4 separate regions of the Homo sapiens genome follow, and regions 1, 3 and 4 are each linked to region 2. The links are contacts of gene promoters, found by promoter capture Hi-C in blood cells and fetal thymus (Javierre and others, 2016). All regions are on one chromosome and are shown on one strand. Each heading gives the region's core, a stretch centred on a gene start or on the middle of the fragment in contact. The rest is flanking DNA. Distances are from core to core; before and after follow the strand shown. Region 1 has its middle 76 kb from the start of GC. Region 2 holds the start of ENAM (enamelin). Region 3 overlaps ADAMTS3 (ADAM metallopeptidase with thrombospondin type 1 motif 3). Region 4 overlaps ADAMTS3 (ADAM metallopeptidase with thrombospondin type 1 motif 3).

Region 1 (7,223 bases), core at 2,923-5,422, 1.1 Mb after region 2:
AATCAGGAAACACAGAAAGGCAATAATTATTGATTTATATGGAATAAATTGAACATAATTTCATTATTGGAGAAAACTTTGGAAAGAAAATAGAATAATGGATGGAAAAATACCTAAATAACTAAAATTATTCTTACATAATTTTAGTTTTTCAAGAATAATTACTTGATTAATCATATAACTATGATCAAATAGGGTAGATTGAAGAACTATTTACAAGGGGTACCCTTGTGTTGAAAATAAAAACATCTCCATCTGTCTATAGCTAAAGAGAAATATAATCTAGGATTCTGTCAGATAGAGGTTATCTATGTTGCTTTCAAATAAATTACATTGACATATCACTGTTGTTCCATGTTAGTTTTCCTGGTATTCCTGGTGAACAGAGGTACCAGTGAATCTCAACCTGTCTTCCACAGTAAGCACTCATGATAAATGATGGCATTCATATATGCAATACACATAAATGAAATTTAAGCTAATTCCCTGAGCAGTATTTCTGATGCTATCTTTTTGTCTCTTACTGAAGGTAATATAACTGATAGTTTGAGAATTAAATTCTTGTTATTATAGACATAATACAAGGGCCTACTAGCTTCTTATATTTGGCTGCCTTTCAATGCCCAAATTATTATCATCTGGGTCTTTATCATATGTGAAGTCACACAGTGCAGACTCCTTCATGAGTCCTGGGAATCCACAGATAGAACTTACCGTCATCTGGCTGTGGCTTTGCCCAGCTTCCCCACCATTTTTCCCACCCCTGCTATCTCATAACTACTCTCCATGCAGTGCAATATTGCTTGGCACATAGTACAAGTTCATTAAAAACCTGTTGAATAAACAAAGTTTATGGAAACATAAGGTAATTACAATGCAGAAAAGTAGAAATCCTATTCCTAAAATCTATCAGTCATTCCTCAGCCCTCAACTAAATTTCTAGGATTTATTCACTTTTCTTACTGAGAAAACCTCATTTTAACTTTATTCTTGCTGTCCAAGAGAAACCAAACCAGTTAACCCCATGATAATCTTTCAGAAATGCTGCCGTGACCACAGAAAATAGCCTTTTACATTGCTTTTTGGAGTAGTTAGATTTCTTTTATTACAAATTCAGCATTTCAGAACAGAATCTTCTATTACCTTTGCATAAGCAGAGGCTCATGAAAATGTTTACTCTAAAAGCCCAACTCCTATCCAAAAGGTGATAGAAAATTTATTTTTAGCAACACAAAATACCAATAAAGCTTTGATGTTCCAGGTTGTTTTTTTCTTAAACATTCAAAGAATCCAGATCAATATTTCCCCATTTCCTCCTTGCATATACACAGCAATTTGAAAGTGGTAAGCATTTTACAATCATTGATAAATCTGGCATTAGGAGAAGGCAAGGAGAAAATTTGTCTTGGTTTTTAGACTTATAGGGATCATGCCTTCCTCCCATTGTACACATGTAAAGATGATTTTGAATCTCCTCTATTTCTTTTTTTCAAAATAAGTCATATGCAAACTGCCCTGTGATCATTATTATTAGTAACATGTTACTAGTGACCTTTCCTCATACCAGTGTGTTGTAATAATTCAGCTGAGAGCACAAAGCAATAATTTATACCCAAGGGTCTTCATTCTCTTAGCTTTGTTTTCAAATTTTCACATGGTATGAATGAAGTCTTTTCCAAAAATTGTAATTTACAGATTTGGAATATAAAGATGTATGTGTATAATTGAAGCAATGACAACTCTATATCACAAATGTAGAAAATATAGACAATATAGCATGGTAGTCAAGAGGACAGGTAGCACTTCAAACTAACTAAAACCCCCAGAGGCCCCATGACAATAAAGTGTAGTGATTAAGTACCCACATCTTGGAATCAGAAAGACCTGGTTTTGAATCCAAGATCTACCTCTTATTACTGTGTCCTTGAACAAGTTATATGACCTCTCTGAGTCAGCTTCCTTGCTTCTAAGTAGGCACATTATTGCAGGTCTTAGCAGGTTATTGTACAGTGACAGATATAAAATGATGCCTCTAAAAACTAGAAGTCCCAAATCCCTTGGGCCTGTAATGCTGCCTTATATCCTCTTTTGCTGTGGTCAGCTTGCTCTCCTGTTCTCCACAGCCACTGTTTCATACCTTTTCACATTCCTAAAATCTGTGCCCACATCCCATCTCCAACGCTACTGAGGAAAAACAAAAAGCACTCTAAGTTGGGTGACCATACAATTTCTCATCTAGACTGAGACAGCTTTGAGAGTCAAAGGGGATGCTCTTATAACTTTATACCGAGACAATGAGTATTGACTAGGATTGTTCCAGACAAGCTAGGACACATAGTTACTTTAGTCATTACAAACTTCCCTCAATTTCCAATCACCATGCAAAAATAATCCTACCTATATCTGTGCTCATCCTTTCCTCCTCATCTCTTATTAGTGTGAAAAAGGCGTGGTCACCCCTCTGTCACCAAAAATCCCTCTGCTTATACTCTGGACCCATCTCTTCTCACCTTCCCAACTTTTCAGCTTTGCTCTATTATTCCCTCTCTCCTGTCTCTCCAACATCTTTTCAACCTTCCTTCTCTCTCTTTCTCATTGTCTTTCTCCTGGCTCCTTTCCATCAGAGCTATTCCCTACTTACAGCCTATTCTTCCCTAGAGCTTCCAGAATGGAAGGTAGTCCTGCTCACAACTTGATTTTAGCCAGTGAGGCCTGTGTCAGGCCCCTGAGCTACATAAAGATAAGAGAATACATTGTGTGGTTTTAAGCCTTTCAGTTTGTGATAATTTGTTAGAGCAGCAATGGTAAACTAATATACCTACCATCTGCCACATTGTGCTATTCATTTTTTTGATGTCTCATCTTTCTCTTTGTACCTTTTCTGTTCTTTAGTGATGTTCCCCACAGGGGGCGTAGATAAGTCTGAGTGGGTTAGAGATTAAGTTATAGTGGTACACCTGAAACTTTTAGCCTATTGAATATAAGCTAGCACACTTTTCTTGACCCTGGCTTTCCTCTACCCATGCCCTTAAACTCATAACAGACATCTTCAACAAGACCACAAATTTGTAAACATAGTGTAATGGTGTGAACTGAGGAGAAATAACCAAGCAGGCTTATAGCAAAAGTTGGTATTTTTATTCATTAGGAAATTTTTCTGGAGTCAAAAATTTAAATTTAGTTAAAATTTTACTATCTCATTGTCATCCCTTTAAAAGGCTTATGCGATCTTTTGCTACTTATTGTCTATAGCGATGAACATGAATCGGAGGATGAGTTGGGTTTTTAACAATTTTATTTTTAAAATAAGCATGTAGTAAAATTGACTTTTTTGGTGTACATGCCTATGAATTTTAACCCTATATGTTTGCTTTTAAAAGTTGTATAATTTTACATTTAGGTGTATGATCCATTTTGTGTTAATTAACACATAAGGTATGAGATTTAGGTAATGATTTTTTTTTTTTGGCTTATAGATATGGAATTGTTCCAATGCCATTTGCTTAACAACTATTTTCCCCCATTGACTTGTCTTTACATCTTTGTTAGAAATCAACTGGTCATATTTGTGTGGGTCTATTTTTGGACTTTTCATTTTTTTCCCTTGATTGATGTGTCTGTCTCTTTGCCAATGACACACTGTCTTGATGACTGTCACTTTATAAGAAGTTTTAAAAACAGGCAATGTGAGTCCTGCAACTTTATTCTCCTTTAAAATTGTTTGGGTGATTCTAATTCCTTTGCTTTTCTACGTAAATTATAGGATCAGATTGTTTGTATCAACAAAATATCTTGTGGGATTTTGATTGAAATAGCATTGTATGAGTAGATCAATTTGAGAGAAGTGACATCTTTAGTACGTTGAGTTTTCCCATCAATGAACATAGTATATCTCTCAATTTTCAAGTCTTACTTGCTTTCTTTCAGCAGCATTTGTAATTTTTACCCTGTAGAACCTGTACATCTTTTGTTAAACTCACACATAACTTTTTTAAGTTAATGTAAATGGTATTTTTAAAAAGTTGCTTTTCAATTGCTCATCACTAGTATATAGAAATATGATTGATATTTGTACATTGACCTTGTATACTGCAACTTTGTTAAACACACAGTTCTGGGAGGTTTTATTTTCTACATAGACAATCATATCATCTGCAAATAGGAAATGTTTTATTTCTTTCTTTCAAATCTGTATGCATTTTATTCCTTTTTTGCACCCTATTGCACTGACTATGACTTCCAGTACAGTGTTGCATAGGAGTGGTAAGAGTTGTACCCTTGCCTTGTTCTCATTATGAGGAGGAAAGCATTCAGCCCTTCACAATTAAATATGATGTTAGTAGTATTACATTGAGAAAGTTTCCTCCTATTTTTAGTTTTCTGAGATTTTTGGATCATGAATTGAATTGAATTTGTCAAATGCTTTTTTCTGCATTAATTGATTGAATTTTTGGTCTTTCTTCTGTAGAGTTTTTAGTTTTTCTTACATGTGGTGAACTGTTAGATTGGTGCAAAAGTAATCGCCTTTTTTGCCATTACTTTTAATGGCAAAATTTGCACCAACCTAATACATTGACTGATATTTAAATTTGCCTTTGCACTCCTAGAATAAACTCCACTTGGTCATGGTATATATATATATATACACACACACATATATATATACACACATATATATATATACTCAATTTGCTAATATTTTGTTGAAGATTTTTGTATCTATGTTCATGAGCAATATTGGCTTGTAGTTTTATTCTATTATCCTTGTCTGGTTTTGGTATTAGAGTAAGGCTGGCCTCAGAAAGTAAGGTGGAAAATTTTGGAAAAGATTGTGTGGAATATGTGCAATTTTTTTCTTTTAATGTGGGGTAGAATTCACCAGTGAAACCATCTGGGGCTGGAAATTTCTGTTTGGAATGTTTCAAACTACAAAATTAATTCCCTTAATACTTATGAGACTCTTCCCATTTTCTATTTCATCTTGAATGAGTTTAAGTAGTTGTGGATTTCAAGCAATTGGTCTATTTCATCTGTATTTTAAAATGTATGTGCATAGAGTACTTCGTAGTATTTCCTAATTTTTCTTTTAATACCTCCATGGTCTGTTATGATATCTCTTCTTTTGTTTCTATTTTCAAAGTCTTTGCAGTGTTATTTGGACCAGACCTATGTGTATAACTATTCGGTGGCCAGTCTAAGACCTGGGCGATGATTTAACTTTTAGTTTAGTTTTCAGAGTCTTTGGTATGCTGATTAGGGCAGATCCATGCCTGTATAGTTTGGAGATCAGCCTAGGAGTTCAGAACCAACTTTACTGGGTTGCTTTTCTCGGGTTCTCTCCATGATATCTCCATTACTTTCCAGTTCCCTGAAGCTCCCCTTTTCAGTCTTGCTTCCAGAAAGCTGGACTTTTATTTAATCTGTTCTGCCTGGCACTTCTGATGATTGTACCAGTGCTGTGGCTAAGTAGTAGAATGATAGAGAAGGAAGAAAACAATGGGGCTCACCCCACCCTCTTAGGTTTTGGGATCTGAGCTCCCCCACGTGGAGAGACAGTTTCTAATTCCTCAGAATTTTAGATACTTGCAGCATCCCCTGCCAAGTGACCCCTTGCCCACTTCTCAAGTCTAAACTATGGGGCTTCCCCTAGAGCTCTTTCTGTTTTCAGTGATGCCTACTTCTGGTTTTTAGGCTGGTTAGAGTTTAGGCCAGAGGACATCAGTGGAAAACATGGTACACACACGAGTGTTTAGGGTACTTTAAATTTGGTCTTCATCAGTCATCTGCCTGCTGCTGTTTACTTTTCAGAGTCTTCAAATGTCTACTTCGTGCATTCTGTATAGGTCTTTGGTTACATTCAGTGGGAGAGACAAGGTAGAATGCGCTTTCCTCATCTTACTCCACACAGGAATTGAATAGAAAATTTTTTATTAGATTGCAAAGTGATGTGCTTTGAACTGAAGGACTTTTGTGATAAGTTTCATGGACAACACTGAATATCCTGGTGGAAAGGTGATGCCAAGGGGATTGATTTTTTGGAGATTAAAGTTAACTTCTTAGTAGCCTCTCCCAGGGCTGCCTTAGCTCCCAAACTCATCATCCCCTGCCCCTGCCCCTTTCTAGCGTGCTTGAAAATCTCATATTAAAGAGTTGAGCTATTATCAACTCAGTGACACAATTTGCCATAACCTTCAGTGGCACAGGGCTGCAAACTGAGTATCTGCAAACAGAATTCTACCTCCATTGGCCCATTTTTCCAATCAGTTGTCTACTGATGGTTTAATCTGTCAACATTTGCTAATTTTATCATTATTTCATGTGACATCTGTAGTAAACTTAAAGGCCATTGCATATAAGGTTTATTGAATGAAGCATATAATTCTTATATTTTATAGTTTCACTTAAAGTTATTTTAAATTTTTTTCTTAGGCTGTTAGCTAACCAATTTAGCATGTGTTGAAATGGCAAGAGTTTACTCCTGCCCTAAAGTACATAAAAAGATGATTACATGTAATTTGGTGGAATACTCCTTGCATTTATGTTACCAGTTAATCCTCCTGTAAGCAGTTTAGTTGTTCACACACTGCAAAGTATGTGGATTAGGGCGAGGCAAAGACTGTGTGGGAATTTATAAAGATCAGGAACACTAGTTGGCCTGGTTAAATCCAATTTTCTCTTCTTTATGACCAGCTTAGAATCAGAATATTGTCCCTGAAATGAACATTAGAGGCAATTGACCTAACTTATAAAAAAAGAAAAGCAAATATAGTTAAGTGACTTGCTTCAGATTATACAGCTAGCAGGTGACAACACTAGGCTTAGGGTGTAGATCTTCTGGCTTCCAGCCTATTAGACCATGTTTACAAAGCAATTCTATAAACTCATCATTAGCTGGAAGGGTGTTCAGGGTGTTAGGAGCCACCAACTGTAACAGGCACACAGGGAGTTTACATCCCTTTAAAGCCTGCACCCTGGTCTTACTTCCTATTTGGAGTGGTTAAACTTTCATATGCTCACATGCATGTTCAGCTTGAAGGTTAGGAGAGGGTTAAAGGTCAGAACCATGCACTTTGGTCATTTAGAAGCAGGACAATATCCAAGCTTTCACCTTGGTATATACTCAGTTGCATCTTCCACAACAGCAGTAACAAAGGCAAACATTCTTTGAGAGAATGTGTGTGGCAGGTACCAGACTGGTCACTGGTGATAGAAAGGGTAGCCCT
Region 2 (6,537 bases), core at 3,743-6,242:
AGTTAAAATATTGCTGGCCCTCCTCATCTAGGAACAGCTTCCAGAAATATTTCTACCTCCCATGCCTAACTTTGAATGCCTACTCATTCAACATGCAACCCGAAGGTGCAGGATCAGGGCTCATATTTCCATATGAATGTGTCCATTGAAGCTGGCACTAGAAATGTATGTGGTAGAGGGAAAGTAAGGCTTGAAATGTATGGAATCAGATGTTATTATGGTGGTGCATCAGGCAGTTAGGAAAAATATTAAGTTGCTTTTCTGGATTTTGTGATATTTGTACTATTTGTCACCTTTTTAAAATCTGAAATTTGTTACAATTTATTGTCGTATGAAAACAAATATTAAGACCGTACTTTCAGGGATCATTTCTATAGTTCATCAAAACAAATATTTACGCTTGTACCTAACTTTGTGTTCATTTTCTTAAAGAGATCCCTTAAAATCTAATTAGCTTTGGCTTCATATAACCTGGATCCTCTGTTAAGTAGGAATCAAATTTAGCTCTGAGTTTCCTAGTAACCAGAGTGACAGGAAAACACAGAGTGTTACATACTTCTTTTTATGGCAAAGGAGGAAATAAACCATAAAATTGTTGTAAGAAATGTAATGAGATATAATGTATTATTTCCATGATGAGATGACACCTAACCCATCTGAAACACTTACTGGGTCAGGCACTGTTGTAAGCACAGTGTATACATTATTCAGTATTTCCAACCCCAATGCCTGTTTTCTTAACCATTGGGTTTTATTTTCTTCTCAAGGTGACGAGAGAAAGAAGCTGATCTTGAGTACATATAAGAGAGTTCTTACTGCTAGAAGCCCAGGAAATAAACACCACCTCTGAGGGTTATCCAAATACTAATAAATCACCACCCAACAATAGTTACTCATTGACTTCACTGAGCAACTTTCTTATTAGTAGACAAAAAGTAGAATTTAAATTAAATAAAATCTGACAAACACTGTGATCTAGTTTCCTTTTTTCTTTTTCTTTCTTTTTATTTTCTTTTCTTTTTCCTTTTTTTTTTTTTTTTTTTTTAAGATGGAGTTTCACTCTTGATGCCCAGGCTGGAGTGCAATGATGCAACCTCGGCTCACTGCAACCTCCATCTCCCGGGTTCAAGTGATTCTCCTGACTCAGCCTCCAGAATAGCTGGGATTACAGGCACCCGCCACCACACCCAGCTAATTTTTTTGTATTTTTAGTAGAGATGGGGTTTCACCATGTTGGCCAGGCTGGTCTCAAACTCCTGACCTCAGGTGATCCACCTGCCTCAGCCTCCCAAAGTGCTGGGATTACAGGCGTGAGCCACCATGCCCGGCCTAGTTTCCTTTTTTCTATACTCTATGAAGATGCTCAGTTTTTCTTTGGGAGGCTTTTTGTTTGCTGTCTTTTTTTAATGAATAAGTAAGCACAATGATGTGAAACATTCTTCAGAAATCTTTAGGAAATGTGACAGTGAGCAGTAATAAAACAACTATTGAGAAAGCTCTAATGATAATAATAGGTAACATTTATCTATTTATTTATAATATTTAGTTGAAGTATATATTAAGAACTTTAAGTTATCTCATTAAATTCCTTTTTTTTTTTTTTTTTTTGAGACGGAGTCTTGCTCTGTCGCCCAGGCTGGAGTGCAATGGCGCCATCTCAGCTCACTGCAACCTCTGACTCCCTGGTTGAAGCAATTCTCCTGCCTCAGCCTCCCAAGTAGCTGGGATTACAGGCACGTGCCACCAAGCCCAGCTAATTTTTGTATTTGTAGTAGAGACTGGGTTTCACCATGTTGGCCAGGATGGTCTTGATCTCCTGACCTCGTGATCTGCCTAACAAACCCATGAAAAGAATGTTGTCTCCCATTTACAAATGAGGAACTGAGGTTTAAAGAGGTTAAGTCATTTGACCAAAATTCTAAAACAAGTAAGTTGTAGAAATCAGAATTTGAACCCACCACTGAGTTCTAGCTCAGAAAATTTGCTATCGTAATATTCTGTGCAGGATGGGTGGGCACCCAAGTCAGGGCTTGCATGAAGAGAAAGCTCAGAAAATGTTTATGGAATAAAGCATTATCAGTCCTTTAATTTGTGAGGAATTAAACTGCGCCTCCTCTTCTCTTCTGATAGAAAGATCTCTCGCATTTACAGCCTGAGAACAGGCTATAGGAATGAATGGTTTCAGAAAGAATTCAAGGTTGTGGATGCTTAGACACTATTTGGCACCAGTAATGGATCCCTAAGACACTACTTTGTCTCAGGCGCTTCATTCAGTGATCCTGCAGTGTTGGAGTGTTCTGTTAATACTAATCCACAGAACTTTACCTTCATAGTTGTACTTGGAGGATCTATTTGCTCTGAGAACTATGAGAACTATGGCTGAATTTATTGTTCTTAAATCCTTAGTAAATCATTATAAGGTGTAATGTGGAACAATGAAGTACCTTTGTGTATTGATCAGTCAGTCACTGATAGTCGGCTACTAGGAGCCAGGCATTTCACTTTTTTTTTTTGAGACAGGGTCTCTCTCTGCCTCACCCAGGCTGGAGGGCAGCGGTGCGATCATAGCTCACTGCAACCTTGACCTCCTGGGCTCCTTGAGGAGCCCTCTTGTCCTCCCATCTCAGCCTCCCGAGTAGCTGGGACTACAGGCACACACCACTGTGGCTGGTTAATATATTTTTTTGTAGAGATGGAGTCCCACTTTGTGGCCCAAGCTATATTTATTACTTCATTCATTTCTTAGAGGAAACTTATGAGGAAGGTAATATTGCCCTCATTTTACTGAACAGGAAATTGAACAGCTGGATAATTTGTGGAAGGTTTAAACTTAGATCTGGCAATTTCAAAACCCAGCCTCTTTCCCTTACATCTAGAGTATGAAATCAAAAGACTTTTCTGCTCCTGCTGGCTTAAAATCTAGAGCAATGAGGGGACCTTAAAGAGTGGAGGCAAAGGAAGAAGTTCACAGGCCCCCTGGAGAATATGGGTTCTTTTTCAGGGGGAGAAAAAAATGGTACATTTACACACAAATGCACAAATTCTTATATGCAATTTCTTAGGTTTCAGCTCCCAGGTTAACACATCTTATTTTAAGACTGAGAAGGGTAATGTAGAGAAAAAAATCAAAGAGATACATTAAAAAAAAAAATTTAAGCCAAATCATAAACATGTTTCACAAACAGTTGTAATTGCCTGAAGGGAAAAATAATTTACAAAATAAATAGAGATAAAGTAAAGGGGGAAAAACTCATAAAGGACTGATTTCAAAACATTTTATAGGCTGGACACAGTGGCTCATGCCTGTAATCCCAGCTACATTAGAGGCTGAGGCAGGAGAATCACTTGAACCCAGGAGACAGAGGTTTCAGTGAGCCAAGATCGCGCCACTGCACCCCAGCCTGGGTGACAGAGCCAGACTCTGTCTCAAAAAAAAAAAAAAATTATAAAGTTTGAGCTTTTTTTTTTCCTTTAAATGAAAGGAAATTTGGTAATTCTCCCAATCCAATCCAACAGTACTAAGAATTCACTCATTCAATAGCTTGGCTGGATTTTAGAAACATGAATTATTTCATGACAACTAACCACCCTTGTGGCCAAGAGAACAAGGGTAAATAGAGGAAAGTGATCAAAAGTGAGGTTTAGTGGCAACTCCCAACAACCTATATGGGTAAGGCCAAAATCAAAAATTACCCTCTACATGAATGGGCACAGGATAGGCCAGGTCATCCAGCATCAGAACTCCCATTTCACTTCCAAGAACACACTGTAGGTCACTGTCCCGTAAGTGTCCTACCATTTGCAAATTCATCTCAATGTGCACACAATATGATAAATACTACTCAGTTTCTACAAAATCAGACAAAGGCAAGCAGGTACTTGAAGCAGATTTAACTTTGCACATCTTGGATACACATAGAGTTAAAAGATAGTCCTAGCTTCATTTAAAGTCAAATATTCTAGCACATTTTTATTATTTGTGGCACGAAATATGTGGAGCAGAGAGGCACTGAGAAATACAATGCTATTTGGCCCAAAAGGAATGACACAGCACTTCTCTGTCCTTGGAAGAACAGCACCATGGGCAACCACTGGATTAACTTATATACACAATCATACCAAGTAGGAACAGGTTTTGCCATCAAGTTCATTCATTCTTGGTTTTTAAATCCCAACATTAAAATAAGCAAACATTGCCACAACAAATGTTTTCTCTTGTGAAGCCATAAGAGAACAGGAGAATCCAAGTTAAGCAAAGATAGCAAAGCTTGCTCTTGTCAATTAAAAGTGCAATTGGCCTATCTATTTGAAAGTGAAATCTTTATTATGGAAAGTCAGATTTCAGGAAAAAAATCCATAACATAACTGTTTCATTAAATTACTCAGGTCCTATTTTCATTAAGTTGTATTATCATAATAGCTGAGAGTTCATTTGCCATTGTACCCAACTCATCTAAAATTCTGAATCCCCAGTGACTGGATTATATTTGACTTCAAAAAGAACACTATGTCCTGCTAGCCTTATGTAATACAAAGTAAATCAAGTCACTGAGTTTTCACCCATGGATATAACATTCCAGTTCATTTTAATTACATATAAAATGTATATTAAGTAAATATATATATTAGCCTGCCTTTTGATGAAGGCAACTGACTTATGACAATAGCATACAGTTAATATTCGCCTTTGTTCCTGAAATATCTTTGTTATAAACATAGTTTCTATACTTTGAAAGCCAAATTCACCAAGGGAAGCATCTTCTAAATCTTACTGCTGTAAGCTCATTTTCCTGGACTGTTATTATACGTAATAAGAGACTTGACTTGACAGCTCCTATAATAACACATTCTAAATTTTAAATTCGATGTGTGTTTTTTACCTTAAACTCTTGTGATGACAAAACCATTTTCCTCAAAGCTGATTGGTTATGCAGGTCTACAACAGTGCTTAAATGGAACCTTGCTGTGCCAAGCTTTCTGACAAGGAGGAATCTTTTTATTTTGAGCCTTTTTGATACTGAACATGATATCTGAGTGAAGAATTTTTGTTTTATTATTAAGAAATAAATGTATCTTGCTTCTTGAGATCTCCCTGGCTTCAGCAATTTGTAGTTATTTCCACTATAGACCATTAAGAATATATTTCAAAGGCAAGCTAACAAAGTTCAAGTAAAAATTATTTTTTATATATTACAGCTTCTAATTGGCATTGGGTGAGTATTAGAGATTATCAACATAAATTACATATAGTGTCAAATAATGAATTTAATTCATAGATGTTGGTTAATTCTCCTTATTGCATTCCTTCTTGTTGGTTGTATAATCATTGTATGCAGACTAATCTTCTGATAAAACTTTAAACTCCTTGGTTTATTTGGTGTATTTGTTTTTCTTGTAAGTTTTTTCCAGCCTTCTTAGACCTCCTTTACTACTGTGACTTTGTACATTTCCCCATAGTGAAGTCTAGTTTTGTCAACATCGCCCTAGAAGTATCTCAAAATACAGTGCCTGTGTCATTTCCTCTCTGATTTAGCTTTCATCCTACTTTTAAAGCAACAGAAGATTAAACTTGATTTTGTGGCCCCCTAATACAGGTATGACTGGATAAAATAATTAACATGACATGTGCTGCCTTAGAACTGAAGCTTTGCTATTCATTTCATTTATTTGTTCCATTTCTATATTTTAGTTTCTTCTCAGGTTAAAGCTGTATTTTTCTTAAAGGCTTATAAAAATTTTGCTGAAAAAAATGTTGGTGCTTCGGTGCAGGCTTGGAACCTCTTTTCCTAAACTAGATAACTTGGTGAGTACTTTCATTTATTTTTGCCAATACATACAGGTTCTCAAACTAGATACTGTCAGAAATACACTTGAGAGGGCCAAACACTACTGAAATGTATCAGAAGACTCAAAGAGCATCTGCTTTCACAGATGGAATGGAAGAAGAACTTACACAGTCATTGTACTTTGTGGCAATCATTATGAGTGTTACTTTCAACTCAAAAAATAACTAATTATAGACTTTAATCACTAACTTTTAGAGATGGAAGGGATCTCAGTCATCCAACATAATATATTAATTTTACAAAAGAGAAAATGAGTTTTCTATTTGCAAATATAAAGGCTACATATATTATCAAGAATCACTGTGACAGCTACTAGAGAGATGAGATGAATGATTAAGCAAGGCAGAAATTAACCATCCAAAAGCACCCTTAAATCTTGGGCCATAATCTTAGAAACATTTAGCAAAGAAAGCTTTCACCAGTATTCTCTTTATTAGTTTCCACATATTGTTGTAACCTATACTAAACACTCTAAAATAACATTCAGCTGTTATTTTCATTCTCTATGATGTTCTAACTCTGAAAATCTTTAAATAGTAGGAAAGGTATTTACATACTACTGCTTCCTTTGTTTAATTACATTCTGCCAATTTTTCTAATGTATGAAAGATAACTGATTACACCCACAATTTAGGAAAATGTCCATTATAAAAATGCTAAAGCGTCATTTATGTTGCTCCTATAGGAAGTA
Region 3 (6,484 bases), core at 1,587-4,086, 1.7 Mb after region 2:
CCTTATATTATACATAATATACAATGAATGAACATGGCAAAACCTTTTCTTTACATTATTCACTGTGGAAATAAAACAAAATGAATTATTTTACATCCAAAAGAAAAGAATAAAATGTAACTCCAAGAAAGCACAGTATATTATTTCACAGCAAGATGAAGAAAATTACATTTGACTCCACTGAAATATAATACACGTATATAATTATATTTCTCTTTGCTTTAATAATGCAATCAGTCAGAAATAGCAATATTTGCTTTTTAACAATTTTCAAAGTACAAAACATGGTAATTTATAACACAGGAATAGCAAAGACATCAGTAACAAGAAAAACATTAGAATATAGTCTCCTAGTAATTGAGTTAGGTATCAGGGGTATAATGGGAATAAAAAATACAAAAACTAAGAGAATTATTTCATTTGGATGAAGACTAACTTTTTTATAAAAGGAAAAGTTACCCCAATGACAATTTACTTAACGTAAACCATATTTCTTTGTTTTTGTTTTACTTTCATGATTTTATAAGATACCAACGGCTCTTTGGAAGACATCAAAATCTTCTTGAGCAAACACCACATCAAATTTATCTTTAAGTGCTGAATTCCCAGAAACATTTGCCAAATAAATCCTTATTGAATAACTGAATAGTATCTGATACAAACTCAAGAAATTATTCAGTAATAAATGTCTGTATACAAATCTTTTATGAAAATTCCAATGAATATTATTAAACTATGGATAATTTTGCCTATTATTTGATGCATGAAGACAGCTTTTTGTTCCACCTTTGAACCTTCAGTGTATGTCTAAGTTCAAGTTATTGACTATGTAACAAGCATAAACATTTATAGAGATGAGCAATTACATCTCAGGTTAGTTTTTGGTTGTACCTCAATTTTGTTTAAAGTAAATTTTTAAAAATTATGTGAAATACAGATCCAAGATTCCTAGATTTATAAACAGGATAAAATTGTTCACTTTTAAAATAAGTAAAACTAATGTGATATTTTAAAAGTTGTATCTAAAATTTTGTAATTTTTAAACTCCTGATCAATAATTTATATGCAACAAGAATTCAAAATAAACACCAATTCTAATAATTCAATCTGCATTTTATTAAAAATGCAAAATAAAACACAGATTTTAGCTAGCTAGTATAACTGATACTGATTTTACTTGTTTCTTTTCTAAATTTAGTATGTATTTTTTTCATCATTGACGCTAGGGAGTATGAATTCATTCAAAGTGATTTCTTTTTTTTTTTTAAGTTCCTTAAAAGGTAATCTGAATAACAATAAATCAGCAGCTAAATTTTGATTATGTTTATAGAGAAAATGCTGCATTTCTAAAGGAAGAAGCCTCAAAAAGTACAAATCACAGAGAAGAATACTAAATCCATGAGAGACCTCATCTTACCAAGCTTCCTGGGAGTTCTGGTAAATGTCCCCTTCACGGTTCGGCAGTGGGAATTATCTCCTCCACAGACACCACACTTATCCTCAACCTTATTAGAACCAATTTCTTTATCACAGCCCACTTTCTGGAGAGAGAAGATGTCAAATGTGGCTAATTTTAGTGTGCCCAGTAGTGGTCAACATCCCAGAGAATGATGAACCCTTTGTTCAGTCATGGCCCACAGTCAGCCAATTTATAGCAAACTGCCACTGTAGTCATAATTTTTAATACCTCAGTTTTTTAAAAAAAATAATGGGAAACCAAATGACTTGTACCCTAAGTAATAAAGAATATATTTCCTCCAGTCCAATGAAATATTTACACCATTTTAAATTGTCATAGTCATCAAACACACATGTAATGAAAACAGATGTAGCTGATGCTGAGGAGACAAGAAAACAACAAGACAGTGCTTTTCCCTTGCTGCTCTCACATTTATGATGATGGATAATATAGTGAGTTGTATATTAGTGCAATCTTTAAAAGATGGTTATGATGTGAGACAAAACTTCACCAGGGTGGTGAAGATTTTCACAGGGGCCAAAGAAACACAGAATAGAAAAGCATTTCAGGAAAGCAGATGAGTTACAACAAAGCCAGAGAAGTATGTTCATGGAAAGTGGGTGCAGAGGTCAATATCTAAACCCATATTTAAACCAATGGAAGGTTAGTGTTTCATGATAAGGAAAGAACAGTGAAAAATCTGCATTGAATAGACTGCAGAAGACTTGAATACCAGGAAGAATTTACATTTTCCCTTGAAACAGGAAAATATTGAAGGTTTTCTGAACCAAGGCATGTTCTTAATGTAAATCACTGTAGAATAATGATACACAATACACTACTGCACTCAAAAGTATGGGATGAAAGGTGGCAGGGAAAATAAAGACAACACATACGTTTAATGTACTAGGTACTGCGGCAGGTAAAAGCTGAACAACACATACTATGCTTTCAGGAAAATGTAAGCTCAATTACTTTAGACTCATTAATACAGCACTTCAGTTTTGATGAAGTATAAAGGAAATATATGTTAGGAGCAGTGTTTCAGTTAATAAGATAATTTCATATCGATTTAACTATGAACACAAGAAATAAAATGCATTTTTAACCTGAGATTAAATGGAGCAAAAAAACATGTTTGCTTCTCTACTACTTTTGTTCTAATGTGAAATTTAGCCTTTAAACTTAGAATTGATTGGAAGGTGAGAAAGAAATGTCTTATTATCTTTACAACAAAAGATTAAATATACTTAGCACTGATTATTTTTAAAAAGACCTTGTATTTTAATAGCAGATGGCTACTAAAATACCCGAAGCAAATGCATTATTACCAATTTGTATTCCCAACCTAGAGGCCTCAGAGTTACTCAGAAAAGGCATTTGGCTGGAAATTAGGAAAATTATTTAAACCTTGATTCTGCCAGTGACCAAAGTTTGATTTGAGAAAGTACAATGTCTCTCAAATTTATTTTAGCTATTGAACTATTCATAGACACTTACTATAATGTGATTTCAAAGATAAAATAGTTTAAAAAATTAAAAATGTGCAGATGAATGACAGTAAACGTAGATAACGTAGAAAGCCTTTGGGGAAGCAATTTGAACTTACCACACACTCTCCTCGCACACATATGCTATATGGATCTTTGTAAGAACAGTGCGTTCCATCATGCACCAGTTGTTTCATGTAAGCAACATCTCCAGTCTCCTTGGACTGACAGTAAAGGTGGCATCTTTTCTTGGCTGCATAAGATGGAGGATAAAATTAACTATTTACATAAAATGGAATGTTTGAACAGCATAGTTTATTTTATTTTTAAATATAAGGTTTCACTGTGATTTCCTGAAAACAAAAGGAATACCGTATAAACAAATAAAATAAGGAGTAAGGAGGAAAGTATGTACATTTGACATTTTTTTTTTAGCTAAGGTGACCATAAAATTTGTCATCTAAACTAGAAAAGGGGTTCTAGTAATAACTGAGCAGGAACAACAGGTATAAACTGGGACTGCCCCAGGCAACCCTAGATTTCAACATAGCTCTTAAATAAATCTTAATTCAAAACCAGTTTAGTTTTCGTAATATTAGAGCACTGAAAGAATGTCTGTGATTTGACTCAATCATCTAACATAGTTTTTGCCTCTTACAGGATGCAACTCACTTCACCAAAATAGATAAAAACAATGCATTTCTTCTTAATGCATTGCAACTTTGAATTCTTAACGTGTATTCCTCTTTCCTTTAACATGGATTTGAACTGAACCCAGTGGTGCATGTAATCATATAACTATTTCCTTTCATTCACTCAAATAAGAAGTATGGCAAAAAGTTGCCATTGGACATATTTAACCAAAAATTCAGAAGTAAGAAGTGAAACATTAAAAGAAAATTTCCAAATATATCTTTAAACTATAGTAAAAAAGTAAAAGGTTATAAGGTATCTTTTGTTATTAAATTATGATCTTTCTCTTGGTCCTGACTCAATTTTCAAAGAACTATATTTTTCTCTAGTTCAGAAAGGAAAGATCACAATATTCCAGAAGTATTTCCTAGTAGAGGGATTTCGGTTGAATCAGGAATTCCAACATCTCTCCCAGGCGTTCCTTTCCACTGGTCTTTTCACCGCTGATGGTGATAGTGCTGCTTGCCAGGAACTATTGCACCATTCTTACCTCTTTAGAGAAAGGGTATTTAAGCCTTATTCTTAGAAACCCAGGAGAACTTACTCCTATAAGCACCAAGTTTCCTAAGTTACCACATAGGGATCAAGAGTCCATGGGGTTCGTGCTGGCAAAGCTTAAACTGTGAGTAACCATCCACACAGCAGGAAGGAGAGCACGAGGCTACTCACGGTCAGGATGTTCATATGGCAACCAGTGGTGTTTGGTATTCTGGTATTCAAAGTGGGAGTTTCGCTGCTGACACTGCTGTGCTCTGAAGTCCTCAAAGTGTTTTTGGCATTCTTCTGTGTTACAAAGCTGGTACTCAAAATTAACACCAGGACAATCCTGACCACCATTGATGGGCCTAAAGAAAAGACAACATTTAAAAAGGCCTTTTGGCTTCTGTCTAGCAGTTGAAGCTTGCAGACACAGTGCTTGAGGGCACAAAGCCAAAGTTTCTGGGCTGCCAGCACAAAGTGAATGAACTCATACTTCCTAATTTCAGTCCCTTTCCAAAGCACCCTTCTCTCCCTGCTGGGTGGAAAAATAAAACAAAACACAAAGCTCAACTTAAATCAGCTTTTCAAATCATATATTTTAAATGCATGGCAAAAGTGTGTAAGAAAAAAAAAGCATGTATATTGAATCAATAAAATGATATTTTGCTACCATGTATAAAACACACAGATGCAGCTCAAAGAAACTTTGGTCATCGCTCCATGGCTCGGTTCCCTCATATGTAAAATGCAAATAATAATGTATCTTCCTTTGAGGAAAACTGTGAAGATTAAATGAGTTGACATTATTTAAAGCACTCCTAACAACTCTGGCTCATAATGAACTTTAGCTGATCTTTTAATTTTTATTGTCTTTGTTACTTCTAATACCACCATCATCTCTTACTGGGAAGGCAGGTATGTGGCATCAGATAGTCTTACAAAAGACGTGCTCAGAGACATCCTGCTGCCAGAAACAGAGAGAAAAAGCTGCTCACATATTAAACCCTAGACAAGGCAGAATCCTCTAAATGTGAGAATTCAGTTGTTTTTTTCTTCGTAAAGATTGCTGAGCACACAATAGGGAATTCAGTAATTGTAGTCTGAGTGAATGAATAGATAACTTTCCCCCAACAGTCACCTGGCCTTCTATCACAATCTTTCTTTTGCCTTCCTCTGAAGCAATCACATTCCACTCCCTGAAGAGAGAGAGTCTGTATGCTTGGTACCGCTCTTTCCTGGACACTCTCTTGTTTCTGGCAGTCAATCTCGCAGTGCCCATGCCCACGCCCTTAGGGCACAGTGACCTACTTTCCTTGTTCAGCTTCTTAATATTCCTGAACAGCAACTTCTTTAAAAATATTCAATCTTCGTTTGATCTTCTTCATCACTGACTGCTTGTCACAAGATTAATAAATGGAGATGTATCAAAAACACAGACTGGTTTATGAACTGTGAACAATTTATTTTCCTGCCCTGTGTTTTACATGCACTTTATAAAACAGAATACTAATAACATAATATTGAAGTATTTTCTGGTCTCTCCAAAAATAACAAGAGTTACAAGGATATACTCACATGGGATTATTGCACTGGCGTGTTCTGAAACGAACACCAGTTCCACATGTCCGAGAACAGGAGCCAAATTTAGTCCATGACCCCCAATTGCCATCTTGTTTTTGCTGATTAGCATTCTTCCACATGCAATGACCCTTATAGCACCACTTAGAAAAATGACAAAAGGTAATTATTAAAATCACGCATACACTAAAGCTGAAGTTGTTATACAAGAACCATCTAGTTGAAGGGCTTTCTTACTGCTCTTTTTTCTTCCAGGTGGAGATGCATTTAAAATTATCCAAAAGCAATTATGTCATTAATATACCCTATTAAAGGGTAATTTAGACTTGTATTTTTCAAGTAGAAAATTAAAATGGAAAAACAACATTCACTCAGACAAGTTTTTAAATGATACATTCACCAGTAAGCATCAAACACTATAATCAATAAGAACTCTTTGAGCACCCAGCTTGCACAGTTGGTAAGATTTTACCCTTCATCTGTCACTACCTATATCATACCAGAATATTTTGAGGGCTACATGATCTTTTTAAAAATGATAAAATAAACTATGTCTTGGTTTAGATAATAATATAACATGTCTAAAACATATGCAGCTTTCAAAGCACTTTTATTTAACTTTTAAAATGTTTCATTAACAATGATTCTGAGAGATAGATGGGTCATACATATATCATCAACAATTAGATGAGGAAAATTGAGGCCCAGAAAGGTTCATAAGTAGTTGAAGGCCATCTGACCAAGAAGTAATTAAGTGGGGCTACCAGAACCCTAATACTATAGA
Region 4 (6,483 bases), core at 1,179-3,678, 1.7 Mb after region 2:
CCGACTCAGGCTTTTCACCATCACAGTGGTCCCCAGCCCTGCAGAGGACCTGCCTCACCTCCGTTCCTTCACCGCAGGTCACTGAACACTGCAGAGACAAAGGCTGTGGTTACAGACATTTATTGCACCAAGACCATGCACATACACACACACACACACACACACACACACACACACACACACACACAAAGACACAGAGATCTGGAGTGGGTTCTCTATTAAGTAATGCTGCACAGTGGTTTTGAAGACAGATACTACTGAGTTTATATTCTGACTCCATTATTTACCAGCCTGGGAGCATTGTTTTTTCTACATAAGATTCACCTTCCTTATCTAGTGGAAAGCTGGGATAATAATACCTGTCTTATAAGATTGTTTTAGGACTAAATGAAGGCAAAGGAACAAAGTGTATAAAGCAGTAACAAAATTCCTGACACCTAGTAAGCATATCATATGAAAGAAGCCATGATTAATAACAATGGTAACATCTGCTGTAGTTTCTAAATACAATGTTGATGATGTCTGTTCTCAGGGACCCAATCATAGTATTGACAGTCCTCACTTCTTTCTTACAGATAGCAGAATTTACTGATAAGTTGCCTTGGATGGTTAATTCAACATCCTTGGAACTACTATTTCTCTGTGCTCTTAAGTTCATTTCTCTAATGAAAAGGTTTACTGCTCTAAAACTAAGCTCAGAAAGTTCCATGTAATGGCCCTAGGAAGGTGCTGTGGAGGAGGGACTTCTACTGAGACTTTGATATGTGTTATCATTATCATCCTATGTGGGTGACCTGCACTTGTACTATGGTTTGAATGTCCCCTCCAAAACTCAGGTTGAAATTTAACTGCCATTGTAACAATGTTGAGAGGGACCTTTAAGAGGTGGGACCTTTCTGAGGTGATTTATGGGCATGGGTTAATGCTATTATCTTGGGAATGGGTTAGTTATTGCAGGAATGGGCTACTGATAGAAGGATCCTCTGTGTCTCTCTTGCATGCCTCCTTGCCATGTGATGCCTTCAGCTACAGGAAGACCCTCTCCAGATGCCAGTGCCATACTCTTGGACTCTGCAGCCTCCAGAACCATATGCCAAATAAACTTTTGTTCTTTATAAATTACCCAATCTGTGGAATTCTGTTAAAGCAGCAAGAAATAGATAAGACAACTTGCTTGTTTCTTCCTTTCTGGGCTTATTCTCCACTTACTCTTTAGTCTTCTGTCTGCTTTTTCATGCCCTTTCCTCCTATAAACTATTCTCCTATGACCCCAAGATTTCTTATTTTGAGTCTTTAGAAATATCTAAGACAGGTGGTAATAGCTGACAATGCAACATTGAGTCAGCCAATTAGCAAACAAACATCATCTGGACAGGTATGCTAGGCACTAGCTGAGTGCTGAGGAAACAAGGCATACTATTTTTGAGAAATGTGTGTACTAGTGGCAAATATAGATTCAAGAATCAGAGTTATAATACTCTGTCATGAACAGCATGGTAAAGTTAAGTTGTACTGCATTTCAGATATACAGGAGGAACTGCCAGGAAAGGTACCACCTGGAAGGTGGTCATTTGGACTACGGAGATGAGGTTTGGTGGAGAAGGAGAGATTATCAGGTAGGAGGAGGGGGAGTACAAGTCAGCTGAAAGGTAGGAGGCTCAAACAAGCATGGTCTGTTTGGAACAGTGTGAAGTTTACTCGAACTGGGACAAAGAGTTGGAATGAAGAAAGAATAAGAGGAGTTAGTGCAGTGCCAAATGGTGCTGGGCCCTGCATTCAATATCAGGGGTTTGGAATTTATACTGAAGGAATAGGGAAGTCAACAAAAATATTAGACAAAAGAACAGTCATCTTTCAGACTTCTTCTCTATGTTATGAAACACATAAACATGGTTTGCCCCTAACATGTACTGTCTTAAAGCATTAATTTTTCCTAACACCTCCAGGTAATTACAAAATATGCAGTAGTTTCTCAGTTCACACAAAGCCTAACTGATGTTTAAGCCAAATTAAAATATCTACACATGCTTACACACACACTTTACTTATGCATGCACGGAATTCACACACCTACCTCACTCCAGGGTCCTGTTTTCCACTGTGCAGGGCAGGGCACTCTGTTACAGGGCCGGCGGCTCTCGGGACGGTCACCCATGCAGTATTTGCTGTGCACAGAGCGGTTGGTGCCATCAAGGAGTGGCTGAAGGCAGCGTACAGTGCGAAGCTGATAGCCAGAACTTCCACAGGTTTTGGTGCAGTGTTCCCATTCTTCTGCTACCCAGCTGTGGGTGCGGGGATTTAATATTGCAATTATCACTGGTATGTATAGTGTACACATTTCTACCTGCAAAGCCTAGACTTTTCTGCTCTCTAAGTGACTTGCAACCTAGTGGGCACACTGCAGTTCAGGAAGTGGTTTCAGAAAGATGGATATAATGGATAACTTTTTAACAATAGTAGGCTGAAACTTTTATTTTATTATTATTATACTTTAAGTTTTAGGGTACATGTGCACAATGTGCAGGTTAGTTACATATGTATACATGTGCCATGCTGGTGTGCTGCACCCATTAACTCATCATTTAGCATTAGGTATATCTTCTAATACTATCCCTCCCCCTCCCCCCACCCCACAACAGTCCCCAGAGTGTGATGTTCCCCTTCCTGTGTCCATGTGTTCTCACTGTTCAATTCCCATCTATGAGTGAGAACATGCGGTGTTTCGTTTTTTGTCCTTGCGATAGTTTACTGAGAATGATGATTTCCAATTTCATCCATGTCCCTACAAAGGACATGAACTCATCCTTTTTTATGGCTGCATAGTATTCCATGGTGTATATGTGCCACATTTTCTTAATCCAGTCTATCATTGTTGGACATTTGGGTTGGTTCCAAGTCTTTGCTATTGTGAATAGTGCCGCAATAAACATACGTGTGCATGTGTCTTTATAGAAGCATGATTTATAGTCCTTTGGGTATATACCCAGTAATGGGATGGCTGGGTCAAATGGTATTTCTAGTTCTAGATCCCTGAGGAATCGCCACACTGACTTCCACAATGGTTGAACTAGCTTACAGTCCCACCAACGGTGTAAAAGTTTTCCTATTTCTCAAATAGGATGTGGCTGAAACTTTTAATGCCCTATTTTTTTCTGCCTCTCAGTGACTCTGAAATCTTCTTCTTTCCTAAAGGATGATCTACAGAGGGTTTCTGAAACTCATCTTAAAGTTGCCCTGTTAGATTCAGGCATGAAGGCAGTTTTCAAGGATAGCACCAACTCACTCTCAGTTACATTGCCTAATGGTGTTAAACATCTGACAGTGAATCTTTAAAACAGAATCCATCTAATGGTTGCTAAGACACACTTACGATTTCTTTACATAACCTTCTGTTTTCACTATGGTTTCCTTCTCTCTTGGTCATGTCTATTATACATAGTTAAAAATCTGGTTCACATTCTACAGAGGATACACCTCATGTCTTTTTCTGGGTTGGACGAGGGCACATTTTTATAAAATCTGGAGAGTTCACTCATGTTTAAATATTTTAACTGATATGACTGTTTTATTTCTACAGTTGTTGCTATGAAGGCTACTTGACATATCTATACTGTTTGGATAATGCAGTTCTTCTTATTGGCCCTTACTGGGCCTGACAAGAGGTAAGGGTGGTGTGCATTGGGGCTGGGTAAAAACTGTTCACACAAATGCACCCGATAGAAACATTTCCAGAGGCATTTTCCAAAATATTAACCAGGGGACATTCCCAAATTCTAATGTCAGTGTCAGTGTCCCAAGCACTCTCCAAATCAGCTGTGGATACAACATTACACACAGTTCTCCAGTACACATGGTTACCAAGTCCCAAAGGGTGGTCACCATTGACTCCATCTGGTTATGCAAGCTGTCTGTATGTAATTCAGGCTAAAATGGATTTGCCTTTTCCAAAGTTACTTTCCCTCTGCAATTTATTTTTCTTTCCATATATATGAGGCACCAAAATATAACCATGCTAAAACCTTGGCAGTCTTTGGTATTCACAGTTTAAGACTGCTTTAGCTTGTCAAACTGGTGGTAAAATGAATGTCTCAAGGCAACTGGACTGAGGAATTTTGCTCAATTTTGAAGACTTCAGTGATGACTCTCTTTTGAAGACAAATATTATACTTCACAGATATAGGTACTTCTGATTACCTCCATTCCCTCCTAAGATCTCAGAATGAAAGTAAATGACAAAAATGTTATAAATCTAGAAAGACAAAGAAATTTGAGAGGAAGTCACAGCAACATAATTTTGGAACCTAGAAGACAGATGGACATATGGAAACTAACTCAGCAGATCTAAGAAGAATGAAGTCCAACTCAGCAGTACAAGGTGATGAGCAAACTGACTTGCACTGTAGAACTTTAGAAATATTTAGGGATTAGAGGCCTTAGATTCAGTGTGAGCTGTGAAAACAAGGGTGAAGCCAAGACTGAAAGCAGGATAACTAATGAAAAGTCTGTTTGGAAGCAGTTAGACCTCCTGATTCTTAACCATACAGGGTGATTTGCCCTCCTCCAACGCAGAAGACATGAGGTTTATCCTCTGTAGAATGTGAACCAGACTTAACTGGATACAATAGACATGATCAAGAGAGAAAGAAACCACAGTGAAAACAGAAGGTTACGTAAAAATCCATCTGTGAAATGGTGAGATCGCTTTAGAAACCTATACACATTTCCAGAACAGCCTTTAAACTGGCTTACACTCCCTAGGCAAGAAATTGATTCTGTTCTATGGAATCTTTTTTATAAGAAAAACACTAAATATACAATTAATTGAGGCTCTTTCAATAAAATAGCTGAGTCAGATCACCCTATAGTTGAGCCCACGAGCCACGACTGTAAGGCAAACTTCTAATCAGCCTTCTAAACACTGCATTTTTATACACGTATGAACATCCCAGGATTACCACATAGAAATCCTCTAACATAAATGATGGAGGTGGAGTGGGTGTGGAGAAGTGGAAGAAAAGAACTCAAAAGAAATTACTTAGAAACAGGAAATGAATCCTTGATATTCCAGAAGAGATAAAAGAATACATTGCATCTGTGAAATAAAAATCAAATGCCTTGAAAAAGAAATACTTGAATAGATCTCTTGAATATTAATGATATGATAGCAAAAATGAAAGGTTCGGCAAGTGCAACAATGGACAATAGGAGAGAAAATCCAAGCTACTAATGTCCCAGAAAGAAAGAACACTGAGGAACACGGGAGAATTTTTTTCAAAACAAAAAAAATACAAGAAAATCTTCCAGAGATAAAAGATATACATTTTATTTATTTAAAAGTTTGTGTCATTTGCCACAACATAGATGAAACTGGAGGAAGTTATGCTAAGTGAAATGAATCAGACACAGAAAGACAAATACCATGTGACCTTCACTTGTTTTCTAGATTCCATATGTGGAATCTATAAAAGTGGAACTCACAGAAGTGGAGACTAGAATGGTGGTGATTAGGGGCTTGGGTGAGGGTGAAGGAGTAATGGAAAGATGTTGGTCAAGGGGTACAAAGTTTCAGTTAGAAGAAACATGTTTTTGAGATCTACTGAACAGCATAGTGTCTATGGTTAATAATTATGAAACTGATATTTCAAAATTGCTAGGAGAGCAGATTTGAAATGTGTGTACCACAAAAAATGATAAGTATGTGATGTGATAGATTGGTTAATTAGCTGAGTTTAATCATTCCACAATGTATGCATACATCAAAACATTACATCGTACCCCATAAAAACATACAATTTTTATTTTTCAATTAAAAAACTCTATAAGTACACAGCACAACGATGAGTAAAAATGAGCACCAAGTCAATTTCATCACTGGGATTTCAGGACACTAGGAACAAAATGACGGTCCTACAAACTTTGAAAGACAAAGAGACCAAAACAGGTCATTGAGAAAGAACTGAGAATCAGAATGGCAACTGACTTTTCAACAGCAACACTTGAGTGTAGATAATAATAGAACAGTATTTTTGAGTCTGAGGGATGATATATTATAGTTTGGAGTAACAGTAAATCCCAGAGAAGAGAAACGTAGTAGGAATTCCAAGGAGGATGATGAAAGGAAACCCTAGGATGAAAGCTGGTAAAAAGTCCAAGCTGGAGCTGGAACACAGAGAACTCTCTGTTCTCTAAGACTCTTCCATTTCTATGGAGACTAAAGTGACAGGATACTTGGATGTTTAGTATTTTGAGGGGATTGATACTGAGAAAGAGAGTTTGGGAATGAATTAGGGAAAAGTAGTAGAAGATCAAATACATAAAATCAAAATATTCATTTATTCTGGAAGAAACGTTACAAGAAAGAAACCATAATAATCAATGCATGCTGTGTGACTCAGGTATTAAGAGAGATACATGTTAATACAAACCCTGAATATTGCGATCAGTAAAAGGTATGTTAGGTCAGTAATGGGAGTAGCAGGGAAG

Evidence for each region. The method cuts DNA at HindIII sites, captures the fragments that hold promoters and counts their contacts. A CHiCAGO score of 5 or more calls a contact.
Region 1: a fragment that was not itself captured here is called in contact with the fragment with the promoter of ENAM in region 2 in 10 of 17 cell types (fetal thymus, total CD4 T cells, M2 macrophages and 7 more); the score reaches 12.5 in fetal thymus.
Region 3: a fragment that was not itself captured here is called in contact with the fragment with the promoter of ENAM in region 2 in 1 of 17 cell types (total CD8 T cells); the score reaches 5.1 in total CD8 T cells.
Region 4: a contact is called between a fragment that was not itself captured here and the fragment with the promoter of ENAM in region 2, in 6 of 17 cell types (total B cells, naive CD4 T cells, non-activated CD4 T cells and 3 more). The highest score is 9.2, in total B cells.

The regions. Positions count from the first base shown.
Region 1 is chr4:71,704,631-71,711,853 of GRCh38, forward strand. No RefSeq gene overlaps it. Among named protein-coding and RNA genes, the nearest start is that of GC, 76 kb to the right of the region's middle. The HindIII fragment of the contact is 5,854 bases long and covers 1,246-7,099 here.
Region 2 is chr4:70,623,752-70,630,288 of GRCh38, forward strand. ENAM (enamelin) reads left to right here and starts at 4,993. Exons shown (of 9, transcript NM_031889.3): 1 at 4,993-5,213; 2 at 5,690-5,803. The coding sequence starts at 5,750. The HindIII fragment of the contact is 672 bases long and covers 4,972-5,643 here.
Region 3 is chr4:72,307,980-72,314,463 of GRCh38, forward strand. ADAMTS3 (ADAM metallopeptidase with thrombospondin type 1 motif 3) reads right to left here. Exons shown (of 22, transcript NM_014243.3): 12 at 5,698-5,843; 13 at 4,312-4,487; 14 at 3,069-3,202; 15 at 1,418-1,541. Among named protein-coding and RNA genes, the nearest start is that of ADAMTS3, 260 kb to the right of the region's middle. The HindIII fragment of the contact is 2,835 bases long and covers 1,420-4,254 here.
Region 4 is chr4:72,288,781-72,295,263 of GRCh38, forward strand. It overlaps ADAMTS3 (ADAM metallopeptidase with thrombospondin type 1 motif 3), which reads right to left. Exons shown (of 22, transcript NM_014243.3): 20 at 2,075-2,282; 21 at 1-88. Among named protein-coding and RNA genes, the nearest start is that of NPFFR2, 260 kb to the left of the region's middle. The HindIII fragment of the contact is 9,952 bases long and covers 1-6,483 here.